Regions from separate parts of the Homo sapiens genome. Here regions 1, 2, 3, 4, 5 and 6 are each linked to region 7. The links are contacts of gene promoters, found by promoter capture Hi-C in blood cells and fetal thymus (Javierre and others, 2016). All regions are on one chromosome and are shown on one strand. Each heading gives the region's core, a stretch centred on a gene start or on the middle of the fragment in contact. The rest is flanking DNA. Distances are from core to core; before and after follow the strand shown. Region 1 has its middle 100 kb from the start of TMEM260. Region 2 overlaps LINC02284 (long intergenic non-protein coding RNA 2284). Region 3 overlaps LINC02284 (long intergenic non-protein coding RNA 2284). Region 4 overlaps LINC02284 (long intergenic non-protein coding RNA 2284). Region 5 has its middle 120 kb from the start of TMEM260. Region 6 overlaps LINC02284 (long intergenic non-protein coding RNA 2284). Region 7 holds the start of KTN1-AS1 (KTN1 antisense RNA 1).

Region 1 (3,826 bases), core at 616-3,115, 900 kb before region 7:
CAGGACTCCTCCAATGTAATAGCTAATTGCTTCAAAATTCACTGTGCTCCTTTTCAAGTGTGAAGTCCAGGGAATGGACAGGATGCTGTAGTCCAGAAATGGACAGAAGATGTCATATGGTAAGATGTCAGAAAGATCTTCACGATTTTCTCTTTCGATGTGTTATGTCTCATCACACACAAAGTGTGAAAACACTTCCTAAATTAGACAAGTAACAATTTATATCAAGAAAAATATTGTCTTATCCTATAAAATGAATAAGTGGCAGGTAAGTATGGTTCAATATGTGTCTACTGATATTAATAATGTCCAGTTGAGTTGAAATATGTAGGAAAGTCTTTGAGGGAAGGAAATACTTTCCTGACTCTAAATGGCCTTTTGCTTGTCATATTTACTTGGATGTCCAACAGAGATTAACTCTTTATGTGGATGTGATGGTAGATTTCACTTTTAAATCAAACAATTAGCAAAAAAAAAAAAAAAAAAAAAAAAAACCATACAGGAATGGAGGCAAAAGCTTCCAAAGTCCAAACAAATGCCATGTAAACATTCCATGATCTACTTTTACTTTTAGATGGTAGATCATGTGTTGAGAATTTACATGAGTTAGCATCAGAAAGTATCACAAGCCCATTGTACACCATCTTTCCCAAGTTTCACAATACGTGGGAAATTAACATTTGGGTTGCCATTTTTTAAATTAAAAGTATGATGGCTTTTTGCTGACCCAGATGATCCCTTGTCTACTTTCATCAAAGGCACAGTGTGAGAGAGTAGAGATTTTACTATATTGTCTATTTCTCCAAAAAGGCCTCACCTAGCACTGGCCTTCTCATCAGGATGGGTTAGCTCCTTGCTAAATGTTAACTGCGGACCAGCAGAATCGACATCAGCTTCATCAGAGGAGCTTGTAAGAAATGCAGAACCTCATGGCACACTCCAGACTTATTGAATCAGAATCTACATTTTAACACGTTCTCCATGTGATTTATACGAACATTAATGTTTGAGAAGCACTGGGTTAATTGACGATTAAGAAATATAGTGCATCTGTTTGCCCTACTCTCCATCTGTTGCCCAACACACACACACACACACACACACACACACACACACACACATGCACACACACACTCTTTGGGTTTAAAATTAAAGAGCAGACTGGTCAAAATCATGCAAAATCATGAATTTGCAGGATTTAACTGCTGAATGCAATACTAAAAATCATGTAGTCACAACCCTTCAAATGGCAGAGATTAGTAAACATCTCCCACTATTCATTCTCCCCTTCTGCCCTGTAGTAATAGAACTCTCCAAGGTTTATCTGAGCACACCACACAACAAGACAGTGCATTTCCCTAGCTCCTTTACAGCTAAGAATCGCCATGCTATTAAATTTGAATCAATGAGATATGAGCACAAGAGACACATTCAACTTCCAGTCAGTTCCTCAGCAAAGTAGCAGCTTTTCACAAGCTTTCCTTTTTCTGATGGCTGGGAAGCAGCAACAGCTACAGTAGATACCTTGGGCTCAGAGATAGAAGTCACACACTGAGAATAACAGAGCTACTAGCCATCCCAGGTCAATAGATGACCTTCTGTAACAGAGCAGCCCAACTATCCCAGAATGCCAGATCAGCCTGGGACATGGAAGGGAAATTAAGCTCTCTCTCATCCTACCCATTGAAGTCACTGTGATTTTAAGTCTCTTGATGGCAGCTTAGCCTTTGTGCTCTGATTGATTACTTCACAAGTGAGGAACTGAGGCCCAGAAACTGTATGACTTATGGTGAAAATATCACTTACGAATGTAAAAATAAGCCAGTGGAAAATATTTAAAGATTTTTAGGCCAGGCATTGTGACTTACACCTATAATCCCAGCACTTTGGGAGGCCAAAGAAGAAGGATGACTTGGGGCCAGAAGTTCAAGTCTAGCCTAGGCAACATGGCAAGACCCCCCTCCATTGCTACAAAAAATAACAAATTAGCCAGGCATGGTGGTGCATGCCTGTACTCCCAGCTACTTGGGAGGCCAAGGCAGGAGGATTGCTTGAGCCCAGGAGGTCAAAGCTGAAGTGAACTATGATCACACCACTACACTCCAGCCTGGGTAACAGAACAAGAACTTGCCTCAAATAAATAAATAAATAAAATTAAAGATTTTTAAAAATGTATACTCAATTTTATAATGAAGACATTTTAAATGTTTTGAGGCCAGATGTGATAGAACACTGGCTTTCCTGACTAAGCTTCTTGGCTTGGAGGTTTTCTCTTAGCTACCTCTGAGGGATATGCATACTTGTTTATCACACAGCAGCTACTTGGATGAATGAATAAATAAAAGGATAAAGTGAACTCTGTTTTTACTAAACCACCAGGTTAAAAAAATTTTTTTGGCTTCTGCTTATTTTGAAGAATGTAATCTTAAAGTGCATCTTAAGTTGACCACTTGACCCATCTGCCACCATGAAACAAAGCGACAACCAATAAAGGGTTTCAAATAGGCACAGTTTTCATAGTTTTTTGAGTTTTCCTTTCGAGTAGATACATGGGTGGGTGGGGGGAGTAGTTATAGATCTATGTGTTTGCATTGGGTTAGGACTAGAGTTCAGCGTTATTTTTTTCCTCTTTGGTTTGTGGTCATGCCTTAATAGTCATTAAACCAAAGTCATAAAGACGGTTGAAGATACAGGACACGGTATTGCCAACATGAGGATAGTTTATTGGCTCCATGGTTCAGTCACTTTTGAATTCAGATAATGTTTGACCAGCAGACTTCTTAACAGATTTTCTAGAATCCTATTTCTATCATTACAAGTTAAATTGTCACTTTGCTATACAAAGATCCACACCTAGTCACCCAGTTATATTTATCCAATGATAAAAAAACAAAACGCGACTATATGAGATCATTTTAAAATAAAAAAGTAATGAAACACTAAACAATCACTCCAGGTTGTCTGTAACCATAATAATTCATCATAAGGTTGCCCCACAAGGAAGGATTGCATGCATAGACGTTTAAGCAATATGTAGACTTATAACTTTTATTTTTCTGTTTGCTAATAGTGCCTATAACTGAAACAATGAATTATAATATTGACAGGGACTCAATGAATCCAATACAAAGTTGTCTAAAACTATCAAAATGATATAAATTTAATGTAAACAGAACCACTTAAAATATTTTAAACACATGATAAAAGTCTGTAAACAATTCATATCTCTAGTTTAATTTTTGCATTAATAAGTCATATTCCCAAATCCAATTAAAGTCTCCTGTTTACAGAGTGGTTCTCAATCTTGGCTGCGTATTAAAATTATCCAGGGAGTGTTAAAGATCCCAAAGTTTAGGCCAAACTCAAGAAATTCCATCAGGATCTCTAGGGGGTGGGACCTCAACATCAGTATTTTCACCTTTGGTTGTAGTAGGGATGTTGATTGGGTCAACAGGTGTAAACTATTAACCAAGGGTGACAGATGTTCATTCAGAATAAAGGGACACCAGATGTTCACCAGGCATTGCTTTCCAAGAGCTATTATTTTCCATCTGAAACACATTTGCCTTCATCAGCTCTTTCATGTCTCTTTCACCAAAGTCACCAAGAGGATTTAGTGCACTCGAAGTAGAGGGACTTTTTTTTTTTTTTTTTTTTTTTTGAGGGCTTTTCTGAAAAGCTAAGCCTGAGAGAAATGAATAGTTTCTTATCCTCTACATAGAACTCCCATTTAGCTCATTGACCTGCAGAAAGGTTTTAAAATAGCCAGGTGATGTTTTAAGCGGGTGCCTTGTATCCTATGTTAGTCTTCCCAAATGACCAATCC
Region 2 (3,845 bases), core at 377-2,876, 780 kb before region 7:
CCATCAATGTAAGACATCATATAATTGATCAGTTAAGAAAATCCATTTCCCAAGAAGAAAAGGGTCCCAAGAAGAGGGATTGGTGTTTCCTAAGTTATTAAGCTTGATGAAGAATATGGCAGAAAAAAGGGCCTGGAAGGACAAGGAGGCAGGAAGCGCTATGGAGGACTCTGTCAGGAGGAAAGTCAATAACTCTTCCAGGGTTTTCAAATTTACTTACATTTGGAGTGGCCAGAATGCTTCTGTGTGTGTTATTTTTTACCTTAGTTGTGAGCATAGGGGACCTGTATGTCTTCTTGGGGTGGCTGTTATCAGAGAAAGGAAGACTGTGTCTGATAGATTCAGAAGTTCTGCCACCAAGACGTTCACCCACAGAATAACACATGATGAGCAATGAATGAGACATCATTTAACATACTGCAGAAGCAGCACAGAGGATTGAAAGCTCTCCAAACAGAGAGGTGAAGCCCCATGCCTTCTCTCTGGAGGCAGCTGGGGGTACCTTCTTCACGCCTTGAAAATCCACCACAGGTATGTGGAGATCCAAGAATATCAGTAATTTCTAGAGACCAGAAAGAAAACTTTACAGGATGACCAATGTAAACTGATTGTAGTGGCATTTAGTGACATTTATTTCCTGTGAGCCACAAGAGCTCCATATTGGCAGATCTACACAACTGGAGTTATACAGAGAAACAAAAGCAAATCAAGGCAGAAGCTGACATGCAATTCCTACTGGAGTTTCTTCCCTTCTTTAGCGGTTGGTTAGTGGACACCCTACAGGAAAAGAGGAGCCACAGCCAGGATGGCTGTCATGGAGTAATTTTCACCTACTGAAGTATTAATACTTCTTATCTAAAGTAATTTTTTTTTTTGAGACCGAGTCTTGCTCTGTCACCCACGCTGGAGTACAGTGGCGTGATCTTGGCTCACCACAACCTCTGCCTCACGGGTTCAAGCGATTCTCCTGCCTCAGCCTCTCAAGTAGCTACAATTGTACTATATAGTTTCTCACTTATAAAATCTGGCCAGATAATCAGACACAATTACACTCTTCATTTGCTCGGTGGAGAGACCGCTTTTCTAGCATGCGGAGGGCCTCACTGAGCCTAACAGCACATCAGATACGGGCCACCCTCATGTGCTGCCTTGCACACACATATCCTTAAAGCGGGTCAGCAATTCCATAACAACATTAAAACAGCAACTGGGGAAGCAGAGCCCCACGGCTGAGAGGCACCCAACCAGATTGCAGTGCTATTTTTATCCCTCGAGCTGAGCGTATTGATGGAATGGAGAATTACTTTTGTGATTAAACGTGGCCAAAAACCTAGCAAGTGTTAATCTCTGGAAATCTGTTACAAATGGGATGGCAAGCACCAGCAAACTGCTGTTTTTTAAATCTAAAAATAGTTCTTGGTTCTCTTGTAAGTAATGCAGCAGGAAGACAAGAAATTTTAATCGGTCAGAGTGGTTTGGTTTTTACAGTCAATTCCTGAATATAATAGCAGGGATGGGTCTCTGGAGCCCCAAGTGAGAGGAGTCAGGTGCTGAGAGGATGGGCAGAGGCCCTGGAGAGTCTGCATTTACATCTCTTAGCTGTTCTGGCCTAGATAACACAGCTCTAGAACCAGAAATACTCCAACTCAACGTTTTGGGGGCATTTATGTGATTGCGCTGGGAGTAGGGTCATACATGGGCAAAATCAGGGTGGCGGATTCACTGACTGGGTACCGGTTTGAACCAGTGATGAATGCATTGGCCATATAAAGTTAGTATTGGCTCCATTTCCTCTAGCTGTGTCCCTTTGGAAATCTGGTCCTTTTTGTTCGGTCATGGAAGTGGAGTTTCCAGTTGGGGTTCATGAGGAGGTGGCTGGTGCCAAACCAGCTAAGGCATAGCAGCTCCGGACCCAGTGGTACAGCACGATTCTTCAGTCATACAAACCCAGCCCTTCACGAACACTTTTCAGAACACTCCCTCCAGGGCTCAGTCCCACATTGTCTAGTATTCATTCCCCGCCCCCTTTAAGGAGCCCAGCTACACTTTGGCTCAGCTTCCTCTTGCTTGGGTGGAGACCCTAGACCCTTTCATTTCCAGTGATGTTCTTAACTCCTCCCGCTTTTAACCTCACCCAGTGTGCCTGTTCCATATTCCAGGGCCTCTGTCCTATTTCCCCATCACACTCCAGTTCTGTGTCTGTGGCAGCCTCATGGGCTGGGGCAGAAACTTTGCCAGACTCCTCTCCCTGTAGCTTGCCCTGATCTCCTCTTTCCATCTCCCAACAGAAATCCTGCTTCAATCTGCATAGTCTCCTGAGACCTAAGGATGAGAACCTTCACTAGCTAGACCCTTTTGATGCCAGCCCCACCCTATCAGATCATGCTTGTGAGAAAGCATTATCTTTCCAGGATAGCACAGTGGTTAAAAGCATGGGATAGACATTTATCCTGTCTTTTCTGTATTGAATGTATTTTAGGATGTCTAACTAGTTGACAAGGGTAAGTTCTTCTTATGGAATTCTAGCTAATAAATGCATAAAGAATAGTGGAATTAGAAAATTCACACTTTGGAACACCCGGTAAAACAAGGGGTCTATTCTAGGCAATGATCAGTGACTGCTCAAAGCATTAGGTAAAATTGTGATGGGGAATTTTATAAAGGATGGATCAACTTGACAACCTGATTTGACTAATCCACCTTAAAGGCATTAATGGAAAGACAGCCAGATATTATGAGCCTTCTAAAGGGATTCAATGGAAATTTCATAGCCCTGCCATGAGGTAACCTTTTAAAAACTTAAATCTGAATCTAATCAAGTCTTCAGATGCAAATATTAGTTTACAAACTTATGGGGGATAGAGGAATATGTTAAATGACATTGTGTGGACTCAGACAAATAGAGATTGTGAGATTCTGCCACAGGATACATAAGCCAGTATTCAATAAAAAATGGCATTTAAAAAGGAAGAGTTACCTGTTATAAATATTTTTAAAAATCAAGACTGTACCAACCAAAAGAAACACAAAGCTGAAAGTGCTTTGTAAATGGCCAAGTTGTTAAACATTAGCTATTATTATTATAATGATTGCTCTATATCGTAGTCCCAGATCCTTAAGTCTAAGATATTCATTGTTAAGATAAGCTTCAGAAACTATCCACTTGATTTTCTAAACCTTGTGTCTCGAACATTTAAAGAAGCGTAGACACAGGATGTGAGGAAAACACAATTTTCTAATGAATACGAGGAAGCTATGACAAACAGCATAAATCATCAAGCAATGGCAAAACTGAAAGTCTAATCAGACATCAGTATCTTATTCTTAAACCTTCATACACTTTTTAGAAACCTTCTGATTGCAGGAAGCTTTGGCATGTTCACTTAAACATACTCATGTACTCACTTTAAACAGTATGATAATATTTCTATATGCACATATATACATTGACAACACTTGCTATTTGTTTATGTGTATATATATATACACATATATATACGTGTATGTATGTATGTGTGTGTATGTATATATATGTATATATATGTGTATATATGTATATATATGTATATATGTATATATATGTATATATGTATATATGTGTATATATGTATATATATGTATATATGTATATATATGTATATATATGTATATATGTATATATATGTATATATATGTATATATGTATATATATGTATATATGTATATATATGTATATATATATGTATATACCTTGTAGCCATGAATAAATAATCCTTTTAATTTTTCTCTCCCCCAGGTAAAATCTTATAAAGTAAAACATTGACTATTGGACACTCATGCGAAATAAATTCATCTGGATACATGAG
Region 3 (3,530 bases), core at 468-2,967, 750 kb before region 7:
TGTATTTTTAGTAGAGATGGGGTTTCACCATGTTAGCCAGGCTGGTCTCGAACTCCTGACCTCAAGTGATCCACTCACCTCAGTCTCCCAAAGTGCTGGGATTACAGGCGTGAGAAACTGCACTTGGCCTCCACTCACTTTTAAGGACAGCAGAGCAGAGGTCCAACTGCCAGGACAATAACTGGGCATTATCACCCCTTTGATAATAGGAAAGAATACACTTCCCTGTAACATCCTGACCACTTCTATCTGTGTCCCATAGAGAGAAAAATGACACTTATTTTACAAAAATTTTAACCCAGGGACAATATGTGAGACCCTGTGTGTACATTTTAAGCCCACAACTAAAGAACCACTCCTGGAAGTTTAAGCCTTGGTTTCGACTTCAAGCACATAGTGTGAGTGATACTATTTAGTTAGTACAAGATTCTCTCACCACCATTACTGGCTACCATTTATTCATCACCTACCACCTGCCAGGACTCTCTCTTTCATATAAGTACATCTAGCCCTCACAACAACCTTATAAGGTAAGTATTATTATTATTATTATTCCCATTTTATATTTAAAAGATGTGGGAACTTGGGGCCAGAAAGATAAGGTGATTTGCCTAAAGCCAAGTGGACTCAGAATTAGAATTTAAATTTAGGTCTGGTTAACTCTCAAGTCTATTCTTTTCCCACTGCGCCCACTCCTGTTTACTGTCATCTTTGTACAAAGAGGACTTGAGCCTTGGGGGCTTGCACTGCTGATTAACTAAACTGGCTAATGCCTACAGCTGCTGTGCTGAACTGTTCAGTGCTTCCCACATGTGTCCTGGGCTCCATGCCAGCCCTACAAACCCCCCTGCCTCCCGACACCCACACCCGCTCTTCAGACTCAGCATCTATGCTCCTGACCCTGGCCTGGGTTGGATCCTCCACCCTGCTCATGAAAAGAGTAGTGTGAAATTGACATCGAGACAATCAGATAAAGCTGGCTGGTTCTGGTCCTACCTGTCAGCTACCTCCTCCTCTGTTCCCACATCTGGCGACCTTCTGTTTCACCTCAACTCCTCTGTCCACTCTTTACCCACTTCCTGCTGAGTAGGCGTTGAGGTTATACAGGAGGTGATGGAGACCCCTGTCTCTTTTCCCTTCCCCCCTACCTGGCACTGGGCACGAGAATCCCTGATTACACTCCTGGAAGTGAGGGGGCACACACCTCCCTTGGGATGGAGAAGAGTGAACTGAGAGAGGTGCAGAGGCCTCACTCACGCTGAGTTGCTTTGGAACATCAGGCAGAAGGGGCTCACACTCCAAACCCACACTGAGATCACAGCATCTTCGTGAACTGATTTTAGGAGTTCTATTGCCCCACACCTCCCTGGCCCCCAAAGATTCAGATGTTGCAACCCTATCTCCCCATACATCAGAATGTGACCTTATTTGGGAACAGGGCAGATGTAATTGGTTAAGACGAGGTCATAGTGGAGTGGCCTTTAATTCAATATGACTTGTGTCCTTATAAAAAAGGGCAAATGGGCCGGGCACGGTGGCTCATGCTTGTAATCCCAGCACTTGGGGAGGCCGAGATGGGCGGATCACAAGGTCAGGAGATCAAGACAATCCTGGCTAACACGGTGAAACCCCGTCTCTACTAAAAATACAAAAAATTAGCCGGGTGGGTGCCTGTAATCCCAGCCATTGGGAGACTGAGGCAGGAGAATGGTGTGAACCTGGGAAGCGGAGCTTGCAGTGGGTGGAGATCACTCCACTGCACTCCAGCCTGGACGACAGAGCAAGACTCGGTCTCAAAAAAAGAAAAAAAGAAAGGGCAAATGGACACAGACATGCTCACAGAATGCCTTCATGTGAAGATGAAATATCTGGATGATGCATCTACAAGCCAAGGGATATCTGATTGCCAGCAAGCCACCAGAAGCTAGGAGAGGACATGGGACAGATGCCTCCTCATGGCCCTCAGAAGGAGCCAACCCTGTTGACGCCTTGAGTTGAATTTCTGGCCTCCAGAACTGGGAGAGAATAGCTTTCAGTTGTGTGAGCCACCCAGTTTGTGGTATTTGTTACGGCAACCCTAGGAATCTGCTAAGCTGGAGAGATGCTCAGAGGAGTCATGAAAGTGTCTCAGCTCTGGGGTGAGGTAGGGAGAAAATCGAGTCAAGGTTGTGGGAGTGGCTTCTGGATGGGCTGAGGGAGCCTGGTTCATGGACAGGCCCCAATCCCTAGCTGAGTTTCTTCAGAGAGAGTTCGAGACCAGAAACAGCTCGCCCTCATCAAATGCCCAATGCCACGGGCAGTCTCTGGTGCCTGCCTGGGGATATGGGAAAAAGCGAGATTTTAAGCCTGGCTCACCTTCATGGTAAGGAGTCATTACAGCTTTCATGGGCCTTAGGCGCTTTGGTTTTTCTGGGCTTCTTCCTGCATTTAAAAAAATAATTAAAATATTTTATGACTTCATTGGTGTAAAGACAAGTATAATCTATGCTGGACCAATCACTATATATTTGTTATTATTATATTCATTTTTCTTCTGATTTTAAAAGAAGCTAAAATTGAAACATTTTCTGTGGCCCCCTGAAAGTGGTGTGGGCTCAGCCGCTGCGCCTGCTGTGCCTATGGGATAAGTTGGCCCCACCCCACAGATAAAATGAGAGAACCATCAGGGATGCAAAAAAAAAAAAAAAAAAGACCTTTTCTGGATGGTACTGACACCAAGAAACTGAGTCTTAAAAAGGACTCCGAGCGAGTGTGTTATATTAAGCTCTTTCTCCATCCTTTAAAAGCTATGCAATTGCTACGCAGCTTGCATATCTGGTGTCAAAAGATCCATAGTTGCCTTTCATTTTTCCTTTACCTCAGGATGAACCAAAAAAATAAATACTTCCAGGTATCGATAGAGAACCTTGCTACATATTGGCTGTCATCACCTGCAAGCGTGTCCATAAATCCATACCCCTTCTGCTAGGGCAGCTGTTGTACATTGTCAGAACCCTGCATAAAACATCTCCCTATGTACTGTATTATTGGCCCTCCTGATTTACTGTATATACAGTCTGCAAGTTAAATACCAACAGAAGCACCCGAAAATATATTCTCTTGCAGCCTCTGTCTGAAAACTGCATTGCCCAAATAATGTCTGCTCATTCATCATTTACTTCCCAATATCTGAATGTCATTCTCTGAAATACATCTCTACAACAGTGCCCTGTGAAACACCAGCCCAGAGAAGCAGAAGCGGAATCTCCAGCTTCAAGGCCCAGACATTTAAAAAGGGGGCCTGTTTCAAAAATGAGACTAAGCAATTCAAACCGTTGGTATCTCGCGTCCCTTTAAGGGACTTTTACGGCTTCCCTTAATGTAATATTGGAATCCTTCTTCCTTTTACGCACACCTCCTAGCATTAGGAGCAGTGATAACAAATTGAATACGTAAACCCACATAAATGGTTCTCCCTAGAATTCATTAGGAAGTATTTTTGTTTACACAGAATTCCAATTGATTTCTGTGAGGGATCCAGGAGCATAGAT
Region 4 (3,532 bases), core at 962-3,461, 830 kb before region 7:
GCAGGAGATGAGTCTCTGTATATGCTGCAAAGGAAGACTTCTGGTGATTTATCACTCTTTGTACCAACTGTTGCAGGTTTGGATCCCTGAGAAAATCTGAGACAGTTTTGCCCACAAAAAGCTTATTAGGAAGTGGAACTGCTCTGGGGACCATCTCTTTTAGGACAGTGAAGGAAGCAGAACTGGGCCAAGGGAGAAGATGAACCACGATGCTACCACAACAGAGGCCTCACTGATCCCATGGCGAGCTCTGGAGCCAGGATGGCCCTGCAGCGTGGTCTCAAGTTGAGATGAGTGGGGCAGGCACCCAGTAAGGGTTGCCCCTTGGAAGGAAGTGTAACCTTGGTCAAGGTGACTGGCTCTCTTTAACCCAGAACAAGTCCCAAACAAGGACTTAGTTAAGAGTTGTCAGCCTTGGGGAGATGGAATGAGTGCTTGAGGCTGCTGGGAGGATCTAGACAGAGAATCATGACATCGTCTACAACGACCTACCTAACACATATGGAGTTTTACAAACCTTAACTGCATAACAAGTCATCGTTTTCAGATTCTCAGGTAAAATTTAGGTGAAATACATCTTTGTAAGTCTCAATTACCCAGCATCTTAAGTTTTCTAGGGGTCTCAGGTTTCAAAACAAACCAAGGTCTTTTTTTTTCCTTTTTAACATAGACAACAAAAGGGGTCCATGTGGCATTTGGAGTAGACAATCCCAGTGATGGTCCTGCAAATGGTCCCAGAATTTCAACCCTCCTGTCTACCCTTCCTTTGCTACTTGGAGCTGAAAGCCACAGCCAAACTCTAAGCAACTCAACATGCTAATAGCCCTATGGTATACATACATGTGTTCTCTGAGCCATACTTTCATGGTCCTGAGCCACTCATAGCCACCCACTATCTGCATTGGGTCTGTAGACAACACACTGATTCCCTCTGGTGCAAAGAAGGAGCATAATAAGCAAGGCCCATTCCTTAGCAAAGAAAAGCAGTTGAATTCGGTGCAATGAAGACAAATTGGCCATAAACTCTGCAAGCCACGGAGGTTATTTCAGTTACTAAATGATTAAAGTCTCTAATCTCTGGAGTGGTGATAAAGAACACCGGAGAAGGGGGCTGGGTTTTTGATGCCTGGGGAAGGTGCAAAAACATCTCTCTTGAGACCATGCCAGAGGAAGCCCACCCCATAAAAGAACCACAGATAAGTAAGACATCATTAATAAATCAATGACAGGAAAATGAAAACGGAAGCAGATGAATCAGCCAGCAGATCGGGTTGTAGATGAAAAACAGCACATCTGTTGCTGCTGTCGGTGCATTAACAAATAAGTCTGCTGGATCAGATGGTCTTTCACGCTAATACTTGGAATAATGAAGCTTCAAAAGCGATTAAACCATAAATCAATTTTTAAATGTATCTTGTAACTCCCCCAAACAACAGGAGGCATATTTTTCCTTGCTTGAATTCTTTTTGGCAGGCATCGGAAGGTGCAGGGATAAAAAAACAGTGCCTCATTTTGGCTCTGCTGTGAGGTACAGGCACACAGCTAATTTAGTGTTTAGCCTCACGATTTGATTCTTACCAGCTAAAGGCACCGAGCTGTGCTTCATCTATATGTTAAATCCAAGCCAATGCATTTCAGCCTGAGCAGTACCCACCCGTCTTCTTGTCCAAGACAGCTCGGTTCTAGTGCCTGTTCCTCTTCATGCAGCTATTGATTTACATTTTATTTTGTTATTTTTGAAGACTTCAGCAAAATTAGCAATTGAGGTGGTGAAGTATTTTTCTCCTTTGAAGCATAACTCCTCCTTTTCTTCTATACTGAAAAAAAAGTTGCTTCTCTCTAATGGCAGAGTGGCCTGGTTGTAGGACATTAAGGATGGACATGAGTGGTTAATTTGGCAAATTCTACATCCATGTCCAAGAGGAAGAGATGTGCTCTCAACATAATTTTTTTACTTAAAAATGTTGGGACAATAAGGAAAGAGAAAAGGGAAAGGTTCAGGCTAAGAGAGGCAGACAAGGCCAGAAAGGACATAGGGTCACAGATCAGAAAAGGAAATCAAGTTTTGCTCCAAAATTTCTCTGAAAAGCAGAAAATCCTGTGAACTGACCAATAAATGAGTTCTTACTGAATAAGACAAATGGGGAAGAAATAGGAAGAAAGAAGGAAAAAGAAAGATGTGTAAGAAGATGAGTAGAAATGGTGAGAGGAGAACCCAGGATGAGGCAGAGGGAAACCAGGCCATATTTCCTCTCAGCGCACGGCCTTTGCTCCACATTACACCTCCTAACCAGCCCGGGGACAGTTGCACTCCAAGGAAGCAAACTGTTCCGTTCTTCTTCTTCTTCTCCTTGAAACACAATGGCTCTTTCAGGAAACAAACAAATAAACAAAAGCTAGGAAGAAACTATTTTGTTTACTTTGTCACAGAAAACAGGCTACCCTTGGGTCAGGAGATAGGGTATTCTGAGTTCATTTAGAATAGCCAGCAACACCCATGTTTGGTGAGAAGATGCCAAAAAATTATACCAAGTGGAAACTTTTATGTTAATTAATGAGTGACAATCAAATAAAATGATCAAGGCTCATACAAACATTTCCAGAAATAAGCACAAAGGTAGACAGAGGCTGTTTTTTTTTTTAATCATTGTAGGATCTGACAATATAAACTTTTCATATTAGATATTACCTATATACAGTTAGAATCCAAACCAATTGGAAGATTCCTTGGTCACCTGATAACTTCAAATGAAGATATCCAGAAAATTTAGGGACAGGTGATATCCTATAAACCAAGGTTTCTCAAACTTTTATGTGCCTACAACTATCTGAGGATCTTGTGGGAATTCAGATTCTAGGGAAACATTTCTGGAATGGTAGAGTAATGACCTCCAAAAATAGACTTTTCCATAAGAAGCAATAAACATCCTGGCAAAAATAGTCAAAATCAATTTTTTTCAGAATTGTGGAAATTAGCCAAAGGTATACAACACTCTGAGGTGCATTTCTTCAAGAAAAGCAGCTGACTATTGGTAAAAACAGCAAGCTTTGTGACATTCTAGCTTGCCCTATCCCCATTCCCTTCTCCACAGTTTCATAGTAGTCTCAAAAGTGAACAGCCTTACAGCCATGGTAACTGTAAAAACAGCAGCCTAGCAGTTACTGAAGGAAGAAGAATGGGTTTGGAGCTTAAGTCTAAAGACACTCAAGATTCAAAAACAAATAAGTGAAAGGAAGGAAGAAGATCTGCTATGCAAACAGTAACCTAAAAAGAGCTGGAGTGGCTATAATATTAACAGAAAAATCGACTTTAAGACCATTGTTACTAGAGATAAAAAGAACATTTTATAATCACAGAATGACCATTCCATCAGGAAAACATAACAATTACAAACATGTATGTCCCTAATAACAGAGGCCCAAAATACATGAATGATTAATAGAATTGAGGAAGAATTAGATTCAGCAGTAATAGTTGTAAATTTCAATATCCCACTTTTAATAAGGGATAGGCTGACAAGGCAGAAGATCA
Region 5 (3,883 bases), core at 353-2,852, 880 kb before region 7:
GCCACCACACCCAGCTAATTTTTGTGTTTTTAGTAGAGACGAGGTTTCACCATGTTGGCCAGGATGACCTCGATCTCTTGACCTCGTGATATGTGCACCTCAGCCTCCCAAAGTGCTGGGATTACAGGTGTGAGCCACCGCACCCAGCCGAAACACTGCTTTTTTGTGTTTTTAAAATTGTGGCAAAATATACATAAAATTTACCATTTTAACCATTAGGTGTACAGTTCAATGTACAACATCATTTACAATAATGTGCAACCATCAGCACCAAACATCTCCAGAACTCTTTCATCATCCTAAACAAAAACTCTGAACCCATTAAACAATAATTCTTTATTTCCCCTTCCCTCAGTCCCTGTCCACTATTTTTCTTTCTGCCACTATGAATTTGTGTACTACAGGTACCTCCTACAATCGTACAATATTTGTCTTGTGGTGTCTGGCTTATTTCACTTAGCTTAATGTTTTCAAAGTTCAACACTGCTTTTTTTTTTTTTTAAACAAAATTACTTTCAATACTTTATTTTTGAGCCTTGTAGAAAGAACAACTTAATAGTATCTTGTGATATGATTTAATGTACCTCAAACTCAAAATCCCCAGTTTTGCCTTATAAAACAGCTGGCAGTTGGACTCCGATTACTTTTTTATTTTAAGTTAGCTATTGGCTCTGTAAAATATGAATGGGAAAAAAAGCAGTAATAATCTTCACCAAGTGATTCATCTCAGCTGAGTATGACTTGCAATTCAATAATGAAATGAAATCTGCCCCTTGTACCTAGACTGAAAAAGACGAACAACAGTATGTTCTGTTCATTGCTCCTTCCTGCGAGCCATGGAGAGACGGGACCATGACTGATGCCGCTTGTTAGAGGATAATGAAATGCAACTGGTGTCCAGCAGACCTAGCAGAAATACTCCTAGGCACAAGAAAAATATGCCCAGATGGTATTCTCCATTTTTCAAACTAAAACAGCTAACTGCCTCTCCACTTTGTGCCCAGAATGCCGCCTCTTTTAGAGAGAGGTTCAAGCACTGAGTTCTGTGTTCAATGAACCAGGGTACATACTAACCAGTCAATCAGAGCTGCTTTCATCCCAGCTCTGCCTTCATGACACAGTGCCTTAGATACTAATGCGGGAGAGGGGAATGAATGAACCAGAACAATATAATGAGAAAATAAAATCAAATGTGATTACAGTGACCCCCAACCTAGTTTCTCTTAGCTGTACTCCAATTACATTCAGTAGCTCCCAGGTGTACAGCAAAAACTGTAACAAAATAGTAAATTCTTCTTAGGATAAGACTCTCATAAGCCTCTCCAGTTGTATCCAAACTCATGCCATCAAATGAAAGCCTCAAATTGTGTGATATTTAAAACACAAATACACATGCAAGACCAAACTGAGATACAGTGAAAAGCATAAATTAGCAGCAGCTGCAGCCCAATTAGGCAAAGATTTCCACGAGGGAAAGCTTACTTGTAATTTACCTAAACAAAGCCTTTCTTTTTGTTGAGATTTGCTGCTTATTATTTTTTCTTATTAAAATGACTACAAAGAGTAACCAAGAGCATCATTATATCAGGAAAAGAAATTCTTCCAATCTAAACAATTTTTTGAAAGGATATTTTTAGTTGCATGTTTGTGTTTGTAACATTTTAAAAAAAATTGACAATTTTTAAAAATCAAAGATACACATGCACTGTTAAATGTGTCAAAGCTTATGATAAAACACAGTAATTTCAAGCTCAATTTAGTCATTTCACAATGTATACAATATCTCAAAACAACATTGTTGTACACAATAAATATATATATTTGTAAATTAAAAAATAAATTTAAAAAACCCCAGTAATTTCTAGCTCCAATCCTCATCACCTTCTCAGAGGCCACAATTTTCAAATCTTTTAGCTATTTCTTCTGGTATCTCTATATTTCTAGATAATATGCTTCTACTGTGATTTCAGGATTTATGCATTTTTTATGTATCTGTTGACTTCCTATGATAAAGATTTACCACTACCAATCTCCCTTTCCTCCATAATTCCAAATATAATTACAGCTATGAGAGGGGGTAGGTGAGGATAAAGACAGTATGTGGTCATGCTCTACCACATATTGTGAAGTGCACGCATATATACAATATAAACATATATTATTATGTATAATATAAATAAAATTATATATAATTTGTTTTATATAAATTAATAGAATATTTTATTATATATAAATATATAATATAAATAAAGTATTATTTTATTCCTGGTGTATATATGTATTTAGTTGAATGGGGATAATCCCAGTACCTATTTATTTTGTGTGCATTTTTTAAAAATTATACTTTAAGTTCTAGGGTACATGTGCACAACGTGTAGCTTTGTTACATATGTATACCTGTGCCATGTTGGGGTGCTGCACCCATTAATTCATCATTTACATTAGGTATATCTCCTAATGCTATCCCTCCCCCCTGCCCCCACCCCACAACAGGCCCCGGTGTGTGATGTACCCCACCCTATGTCCAAGTATTCTCATTGTTCAGTTCCCACCTATGAGTGAGAACATGCGGTGTTTGGTTTTCTGTCCTTGCAATAGTTTGCTGAGAATGATGGTTTCCAGCTTCATCCATGTCCCTACAAAGGACATGAACTCATCCTTTTTTATGGCTGCACAGTATTCCATGGTGTATATGTGCCACATTTTCTTAATCTAGTCTATCATTGACGGACATTTGGATTGGTTCCAAGTCTTCGCTATTGTGAATAGTGCTGCAATTAACATACATGTGCATGTGTCTTTACAGCAGCATGATTTATACTCCTTTGGGTATATACCCAGTAATGGGATGACTGGGTCAAATATTATTTCTAGTTCTAGATCCTTGAGGAATTCTACACTGTCTTCCACAATGGTTGAACTAGTTTACAGTCCCACCAACAGTGTAAAAGTGTTCCTATTTCTTCACATCCTCTCCAGCACGTGTTGTTTCCTGACTTTATTTAATGATTGCCATTCTAACTGGTGTGAGATGGTATCTCACTGTGGTTTTGATTTGCATTTCTCTGATGGCCAGTGATGAGGAGCATTTTTTGACGTCTTTGTTGGCTGCATAAATGTCTTTTGAGAAGTGTCTGTTCATATCCTTTGCCCACTTTTTGATGGGGTTGATTTTTTCTTGTAAATTTGTTTAAGTTCTTTGTAGATTCTGGATATTAGCCCTTTGTCAGATGGGTAGATTATAAAAATTTTCTCCCATTCTGTAGGTTGTCTGTTCACCCTGATGGTAGTTTCTTTTGCTGTGCAGAAGCTCTTTAGTTTAATTAGATCCCATTTGTCAATTTTGGCTTTTGTTGCCATTGCTTTTGGTGTTTTAGTCATGAAGTCCTTGCCCATGCCTATGGCCTGAATGGTATTGTCTAGGTTTTCTTCTAGGGTTTTTATGGTTTTAGGTCTAACATTTAAGTTTTTAATCCATCTTGAATTAATTTTTGTATAAGGTGTAAGGAAGGGATCCATTTTCAGCTTTCCACATATGGCTAGCCAGTTTTCCCAGCACCATTTATTAAATAGGAAATCCTTTCCCCATTTGTTTTTGTCAGGTTTGTCAAAGATCAGATGGTTGTAGATGTGTGGTATTATTTATGAGGGCTCTGTTCTGTTTCATTGGTCTTTATCTCTGTTTTGGTACCAGTACCATGCTGTTTTGGTTACTGTAGCCTTGTAGTATAGTTTGAAGTCAGAGAGCGTGATGCCTCCAGCTTTGTTCTTTTGGCTTAGGATTGTCTTCGCAATGTGGGCTCTTTTTCGGTTCCACATAAACTTTAAAGTAGTTTTTTCCAATTCTGTGAAGAAAGTCATTGGTAGCTTGATGGGGATGGCA
Region 6 (3,614 bases), core at 863-3,362, 800 kb before region 7:
CAATTAAGTGGTTTTGTGACTAAATGGGAAGGCTCTTTGGTATTGTTCACCCAGAGCTTTTTTGGGAAGGAAAGAAAAGCTCATGACCACAGTTTGGGGTCTGCATCCCCAGAACAGCACCATTCCCACCAGGACTGAGAACTGAGATATTACTCTCCTCCAACAAACATCAACAAGCTCTGCTGAGCCTGAGCCCTCCATTAAATTAGTCTTGCCTCCTGCTCCTATATTTTTCCCACGTGAGCCTAATTCATTATCTAGTCCTTTTTTAACAGAGGATTTTATAATTCAGAGCGGAGTGGAAGATCTCTTTGGGAGCAGAGACAGTACTATTTTGGGATCCTATTTATTTTATAATTTTGCATGTAAAGAGCAGGCAGCCAGAAACACACATGATCTATTTTTTTTCCTCTATGTTCTTTCCTCCCAACAGAGTTCACATTAAAGCTAGAGAAATACTATTTTTTAAATCCCCAAGTGGTGGGCACAGCTAACAGGCAATGGAAAGCGGCATAAACACTCCTCACCCACCAATACATCCACAGGCCACATGGCATGTACACCTCACAACACACACTCTCCCACCCTCGAACTGTTTCATATTTCTTTTAAAAATGTACTTTTTTTCTCTCACACACATTCTCATGTTCTCTCACTCCCAACTTTGTAATGAAGCCCACTTTTTATTTAGTCAGGATCTTAAAGATCTTACCACAGACGATCAGATTTAATCATACAAGATGCCCCTAGTGAAGGATCTCTACAATAAAAGGTCTTGACACAAACAAAAATGAAGCAAGCTTCAGATTAGTCAGCCCCACTCTGCAGATGGTCTTTGTGGGCTTAATGAAAGTAGGTTCAGGCTGAAGACCCTGGATATACAAATTGACTAAACAAACATCAATTTGTCTACCAAAGTGCCTCTGAATCACAAATGAGTAAAATCGAGTTGTCTTGGAATCTGAGTTATTTGGCTTTAAACTTGGCTGGCAGTACCATTAACTATTGATCTGTTAATTTACAATGGTTTAGAACAAGACTTTGATGGAAGGTACTAGAGCTTTGACCATAAAGTCAATAAGTCTCTTATAAAACAACCTTACCCATGTATTATACATACACCCATCGGCAAGACTTCATCTGGGGCATTTCTCAGTCGGGCTTGAATTCACTGACTATTCATAATATTGAAAACCTCCTATTAAACCCAAGCCATTTAAATTTCTAATTATCTGACCATTATACATTACCTTAATACTGATGACTCAGTACTCTGTGCCTCTCTGATGTGCTAATAAAAAGGGAGGGTGATTCATTTTCATATGTTCCCTTTTCTAGGAAATGAATCAGAGACTTTTGCTGCAATGCCTGTGTTCAAAGTTTATTTCAAAACCAGAGTAATTGAAAAACATTTCTCTATTTGGAAAATCTAATGAAAACATTCTTATGCTAGAACGGAAACATAGATAAGCTTAACTGGGCAAGGGATGGGAGGACCACAGTGACTTGAAACTGGGAATGCCAGGAAAAAGCAGAGAGAAACGCATTATGTGTTCTGGGCAGCAGGTCCTCAGCAGGTATTTGTTCTTGCTCAACCCTTCCTTCATTTTCAGTCTTACTTTTCTTTTGCCCGCCAGACCTCTTGTCTCCTTGTTGAGAGAATGCCATCCAGGGTCTAGCTTTTTATAAGCAAAGAGTCCTGAAAGACTGACTTCCATCATTACCATATTTTGGACAGAAGCTGATTTCCCTGGGCTGAAGACATTTTGCAAGTTGGAGGAGTATTTGCATGACAAGCAACAGGAGTTTTTGGACATCTGGAGGCTTAGTTCCAACGTGACCTTAACTGTGCCCTCAATGCCACATTCATCTGCTCAGTCTAGTCTGCAAATGATCCTCTTCTGTGGACCACTGATCTTTCAAAAATCTTTTCAGATAGTTTATGAAAAGACAATGCAAATTATTAACAAAGATATGAATAAGCACGTGCTCTCATCGTAATTAAAGAACAGCAGGTTGAATCAAAATTAAGGTGTGTGTGTGTGTGTGTGTGTTTGAATTAATTTGAGAAAGATCTTTAATAATTACAACGCTAGTGTTCCAGTTAGAATGCTTCAGCTGCAATATCAACACCCAAAGCAAACTTCTAAAACAGTATGTATAATATATTATTTCACATACAAAGAAGTCCCAAGGAAGGACAGCTCCTGAGTTGGTTTAGGGTTCGACAGCATTATCAGTCTCTTATCCTCCACTGGTTTTATTCTCAGGCTGTCATAGTTCAAGGTGTATGTGCATACATAACAATGTTCTACACACAGAAGGAGACTGTTCTGGTCTATTTTTAAGAATGAAAAACATTTACCTAGTAAACGTCACAGTTCATCTCATTAGCCCCAGCTCGGTCACGTGCCCATCTCTAAACCAATCTCTAGTGAGAGAAATGAGATTAGCAAATTTGGCTTAGGCTGATAAGGATTTATTCTCAGAGGAAGCATGGACATCTGAAGAAATTAAGCCACTAGTAACAGGGAAAAGGGGGAAATAGTGACTCTTGGGTAGGTAACCTGTGGTGTCTGCTCTGGCTGCCAAGGATATAGTAAAATGGGCCACATGCAGCTGGTAGACATTCTGGAAAGTAATCTGGCACTATATACTAGGATACTTAAAAGCATCCATACACATTGACAAAGTAATTTGACTTCCAGAAATAAAGCCCATGGAAGGTGAACCTAAATGTAGATAAAGCTTTGTGCTTAGAGGAGTTCATTGTAGCACCTTTATAAGGGAAAGAAGGAAGGAAGGAAGGAAGGAGAAAGAGAGGGGGAAAGAAAGAAGGCAGGAAGAAAGAGGGAAGAATGGAGGTAAAGACAAAGAAAGAAGGAAGAGATAGAGGGAGGGAAAGAAAAGGAAGGAAGGAAGGAAAGGAAGGAAAAGAAGAAGGAAGGAAGGACTTAAGGATCTAATAATAAGTTACATAATTACAGTACATCTGTTTGATTAACTACTCTTTGGTATGTTATTTTTAATATATTTTTTTAGAGACAGGGTTTCACTATGTTGCCCAGGCTGGACTTGAACCCCTAGGCTTATGTGATCCTCCCGTGCAGCTGGAACTACAGCCGTGTGCCACTGCACGTGGCTTCTCTAGCATTTTAAAATGAGGTTTACAAAGAGTTTTTCAGAATGTGGCAAAATGCTCATATTATAGTGCTAAGCAAGAAAAGCAAGATGTAAAATTATATATATAAAACGCTATGTAAAATATTAATAGCAACTATCTTCTCAACATCTACCGTGAGCTGGGAACTTATACACTGTCTCTAACCTTGACAACAACCCTGAAATGTAGGTATTTTTATGCCTGGTTTGCAAATAAGGCAACTAAGGCTAAAAGATGTTCAGTAGGTTTCCAGAGGCACTCAGATATCAAATGGCAGAACAAGGATTTGAGTCTAGGCCTCTCTGGCTGTTTGGAACACAGTCTCACAGTTGAGGAGCAAACTTCTTTCTTTCCCCTTGGTTCTCTTCTCCCTTCTCTGCAGCTGATGGATATGAATAAAATATCCTCAAGTTCAGCTACATGAATATGTCTTGTTTAGGAAGTATAAACA
Region 7 (3,655 bases), core at 716-3,215:
TCTAAGCTCACTTGATAAGGTATTGTTATGTCTGATGAAGGCTACAAAATTAGAAGAGACATTTGAAACTCAATGTTGGGGTGGGAGGGAAACTCATGAACAGACCCAGCTATTTCAGGTTAGATCCTTAAACTAAAAAAAAAGGAAAAAGGAAAAAAAAAAAGAGCCTTTTTTATCAGGCAGCACATCAAATATGAAAGTCTACTGCAAGGCATGTCTACCCAAAATACTCAAGAGTAATTTAGTGTTATTCTTGGGATCATTATCCCAAGTCTCACCAGCTTGGGATCATTATCCCAAGTCTCACCAGCAATTGCTTCGGACCAAACTGGAGACACTGTTGCCATTAGCCTGCTAGGTAAGCTAAGGAAAACAAATGCAACCTAATTTAGCAAAAATTCTAACTTTAAGTCAACTCCTATACAATTCAGAACCTTTAGTTCACCGAAGATGCTTATCTTTAGCTGGGCTGGCCATGAGTGTCTACATTTCTCAAGGCTTTCCACAAAGTCATCACACACACACACACCTTAACAGTTAACTTCAACCGTAGCTCTTTACTCAAGGCTTTCCACAAAGTCATCACACACACACACTCACACACACACACACACCTTAACAGTTAACTTCAACCGTAGCTCTTTAAGCACTACTAACTTAAATAGCGGCTAAGGAATCCGTTTGCCAACACAGTTCTGAATTTAGATTCCTCCTTCCTCCCACAGGAAAGAAGGGCCAACACTGAACAGCTTACTTTCAACCTAACCTAGTCAAGGTGCAACTGGGGCCGGCTGGGACGCCGCTGCCCGCGTCCGGGGCTGCCCACATCTAGTGCACCCAGCGCCTTCACCGCCAGCATGCGGGGCTGCACATCCCACACCAGACGTATGGCTGAGAGCCAGACGACTTCTCTAGACTTCCCGCGTAGTTTTCCGGCGAGGTCCCCAAGGCCAAAAATCTCACTTTTGGAAACTGAAGGGGTCAGGCCGAATCGCTAGGACACACCCCTCGGGGACAGGAAGGGATAACTTCGCCGGTGTCGAGAGTGGTCCATGGATTTTTCCAAAGTCCCCCCTCATGCTGCTTTCCGTGCCCAACCGCCTCCCGCCCTGACCTGGGGACTCGCAAAGGGCAGCGGGAGGGGCGCCGGGGAAGGGGGCGAGCGCCCAGACCGCCGGAGGCAGCGGCGAGGACTGGAACTCCAGCATGGCGTAAGTGTGGCCCAGCTCCGGCCCGGGGACGCCGCCGGAGACGCGCTGCCTCCGTCCACCGGCCGAGGAGGCGGTAATCCGCCTTCCCTCCCGGGGGCCCTCAGGCTTGGCTAAAAATAGGTGCCTCGGTCACCCCAGGGCCCGCTCGGGTCGACCTCGCCTTCGGGAGAGTCGTCCTTGGGGAGGGTGGGGGGTGTCCCTCGGCCGCGCCCCGGGTGCCGCGACAGAGCCGGGGTCGGGCCCAGAGCGGCCCCGCGAGGCCGAGGAGGTCCCTCCGAGCCCGCCCCCTGCGGCGTCCCGGCCCCAACAAGAGCCCCGCGGCGGCAACCGGATGCCCGAGGCCTACCCAGCGGGCGGCGTCCGGGCCCCGCGGCCGCGCCCCCCCGCCCGGCGCGGCCCTCCCGCCTGCCCCAGGACCCCGCGGCCGGCGCCGCCTCCCCCCGCGCTCCCCGCCGCCGGCGCCCGTCCCGGTGCGGCCTGCTCTCCCTCACCCTGTGCGGCCGGGAAAGGAGACCGGGAAGACGCGGCGGCGCCGGCACTACAGCCCGGGCCGCCCGCTCCGAGGCGCCGCCGCCGCCGCCGCCGCCGCCGCAGTCGCTCAGGTGCCGTCGCGCCGCTCGGCAGGAAACGGGCGGCTTCGGGGCGGGGCGGGGCGGACCCGGCACGTCCTGGCGTCTGGGCCGGCGGCGCCGGGAGACCGGCCCCTTAAAGGGACAGCCGCCGGCCCGCCTCTGCCTCCGCGCGCCTGCCCACGCGCTCCGGTACTCGCTGCTCGCGGCTGGCCGGCTCGGGATTCCGGGCTTTCTTCCCGAGACCGCGTCCCCCAGCTGGGCCGAAGGTGGACGCTCAGGGGCTGGAGGCTCAGCGGAATCCCCTGCGTTCAGTAGCCCCGCTCTCCCCTGTCCCGAAGGTTGGTCTCGTCTCGCGCGGCCCTCCCTCCAGGGCACCACCTGGCTCCCCACGCCTTTTAACTTCAGCAAACGGCACTAGATTTACCCCCTGACTATCCCAGATTTCCCCCAGAAATTACTGGAAAACGACATCCCCCGTCCCTTTCTCCAGGGGATCTCTCTGAAATCTCCTTCGGGCAACGCTAGCTACAAACGGAGAAAGAAATTAGAAAGCGACCCAAATAATGGTCGGGCGCGGTGGTTCACGCCTGTAACCCCAGTACTTTGGGAGGCCAAGGCAGGCGGATCACCTGAGGTCAGGAGTTCGAGACCAGCCTGGCCAACATATAGTAAAACCCGTCTCTGCCAAAAAAAGTACAAAAAATTAGCTGGGCATAGTGGCGCACGCCTGTAGCCCCAGCTACTTGGGAAGCTGAGACAGGAGAATCGCAGGAATCTAGGAGGCGGAGGTTGCAGTGAGCCGAGATCTCGCCACTGCACTCCAGCCTGGGCGAGAGAGTAAGACTCTCCGTTTCTCTCAAAAAAAAAAAAAAAAAAAGGAAAGAAAAGAAAGCGACCCAAATGAGTTGTGTGCAAACATTATGAAAGTGTTGTGACTGCCAGCTGGTAGCCATTTATGAAGCCGGGGTAAAAATCTAGAAACTGCTGCGCGAGGAGGGATGGGCCCGGATCTCTCCTTATTCGTTTGCTCTTTGCTGAAAGGATGGCAGCGATCCTCCCCGTCCACTGGCAAGTGAGTTTCGTGTGGATTGTTTACCGATGATCAATCTCTCACAGGAGGCCAGGCACTGCCCCACTACATGTACAAAACACTCCAAGCTGTCCGCAAATGTTATGAAGGCTTAAAATAATCCTAACGATTCCAGACTGTGGATAGAGATAGAAAAAATTAGGACTCACCACCACCACCTCGCCCTACATCTGACAAAGTGGGAACAGAAGCAGTTAAGGAATGAACAGCAGAACCGTTTCTACACCAACAGAATTTCCTGTACATGGGCTGGTTAAAAGTATCCATACTTTTTATTCTAATCATTTCTAAGTTTTCTAGAGCACCTCCAAAATACAAATGAAAACTGCGCAGTGTATAGTGGCCTGAGATATTGAGAATTCTGCCAGTCTTCAGTCACCGTGTTCTCCACAGATGCATTGTCTTATTTTAACTCCAGAGGCGTCCTCTTTTTTCTTTCTCATTAGGATTACTCTGCCCCTCAGCGGTTCCAGTGCCCTCAAAGCAATCTGTCTCTGAAGTACTGGCTATCTTCTGAGCGTGTGCCAGAAGATCCAGCTTTGTTGAAAAGCGAAGCCGTTAGTCCCTTAATACAAAGGGTAAGTGTATCATTTATGTAATGGAGTTTAAGGGCTCTTGATTAGCTTACAAACAACCATGTTATTTCCTCAGGTTAGTACTAACGCAGGTTTTAGGTTAGAATTAAAAATTTATATCATTCATTTTCCTGACCAGTAAAACCGCAATGTCATTTACAGGCAATAATATTTCGGTGCACTTGTAAGTAAGACAATGAGTGGAGT

The links. Contacts are between HindIII fragments. The CHiCAGO score rates a contact against its expected background, and 5 or more counts as called.
Region 1: a contact is called between a fragment that was not itself captured here and the fragment with the promoter of KTN1-AS1 in region 7, in 6 of 17 cell types (endothelial precursors, neutrophils, M0 macrophages and 3 more). The highest score is 9.6, in endothelial precursors.
Region 2: a contact is called between a fragment that was not itself captured here and the fragment with the promoter of KTN1-AS1 in region 7, in 1 of 17 cell types (fetal thymus). The highest score is 6.2, in fetal thymus.
Region 3: a fragment that was not itself captured here is called in contact with the fragment with the promoter of KTN1-AS1 in region 7 in 1 of 17 cell types (neutrophils); the score reaches 5.0 in neutrophils.
Region 4: a contact is called between a fragment that was not itself captured here and the fragment with the promoter of KTN1-AS1 in region 7, in 1 of 17 cell types (fetal thymus). The highest score is 6.0, in fetal thymus.
Region 5: a contact is called between a fragment that was not itself captured here and the fragment with the promoter of KTN1-AS1 in region 7, in 1 of 17 cell types (megakaryocytes). The highest score is 5.5, in megakaryocytes.
Region 6: a fragment that was not itself captured here is called in contact with the fragment with the promoter of KTN1-AS1 in region 7 in 1 of 17 cell types (monocytes); the score reaches 5.1 in monocytes.

Annotation. Positions count from the first base shown.
Region 1 is chr14:56,476,969-56,480,794 of GRCh38, reverse strand. No RefSeq gene overlaps it. Among named protein-coding and RNA genes, the nearest start is that of TMEM260, 100 kb to the left of the region's middle. The HindIII fragment of the contact is 774 bases long and covers 1,479-2,252 here.
Region 2 is chr14:56,355,019-56,358,863 of GRCh38, reverse strand. The region is part of intron 6 of LINC02284 (long intergenic non-protein coding RNA 2284); the gene reads right to left. Among named protein-coding and RNA genes, the nearest start is that of LINC02284, 46 kb to the right of the region's middle. The HindIII fragment of the contact is 3,044 bases long and covers 105-3,148 here.
Region 3 is chr14:56,329,313-56,332,842 of GRCh38, reverse strand. LINC02284 (long intergenic non-protein coding RNA 2284) reads right to left here. Exons shown (of 7, transcript NR_187174.1): 5 at 2,356-2,421. Among named protein-coding and RNA genes, the nearest start is that of LINC02284, 20 kb to the right of the region's middle. The HindIII fragment of the contact is 5,943 bases long and covers 1-3,530 here.
Region 4 is chr14:56,410,578-56,414,109 of GRCh38, reverse strand. All of the region lies in intron 6 of LINC02284 (long intergenic non-protein coding RNA 2284), which reads right to left. Among named protein-coding and RNA genes, the nearest start is that of LINC02284, 100 kb to the right of the region's middle. RefSeq lists an enhancer at 1-445. The HindIII fragment of the contact is 1,674 bases long and covers 1,375-3,048 here.
Region 5 is chr14:56,458,999-56,462,881 of GRCh38, reverse strand. No RefSeq gene overlaps it. Among named protein-coding and RNA genes, the nearest start is that of TMEM260, 120 kb to the left of the region's middle. The HindIII fragment of the contact is 246 bases long and covers 1,480-1,725 here.
Region 6 is chr14:56,376,448-56,380,061 of GRCh38, reverse strand. The region is part of intron 6 of LINC02284 (long intergenic non-protein coding RNA 2284); the gene reads right to left. Among named protein-coding and RNA genes, the nearest start is that of LINC02284, 67 kb to the right of the region's middle. The HindIII fragment of the contact is 1,277 bases long and covers 1,474-2,750 here.
Region 7 is chr14:55,578,402-55,582,056 of GRCh38, reverse strand. It overlaps KTN1-AS1 (KTN1 antisense RNA 1), which reads left to right and starts at 1,965. Exons shown (of 3, transcript NR_027123.1): 1 at 1,965-2,121; 2 at 3,320-3,451. KTN1 (kinectin 1) reads right to left here and starts at 1,850. Exons shown (of 44, transcript NM_001079521.2): 1 at 1,703-1,850. RefSeq lists silencers at 532-826, 1,006-1,645, 1,706-1,965 and enhancers at 2,406-2,495, 2,506-2,625. The HindIII fragment of the contact is 5,026 bases long and covers 1-3,655 here.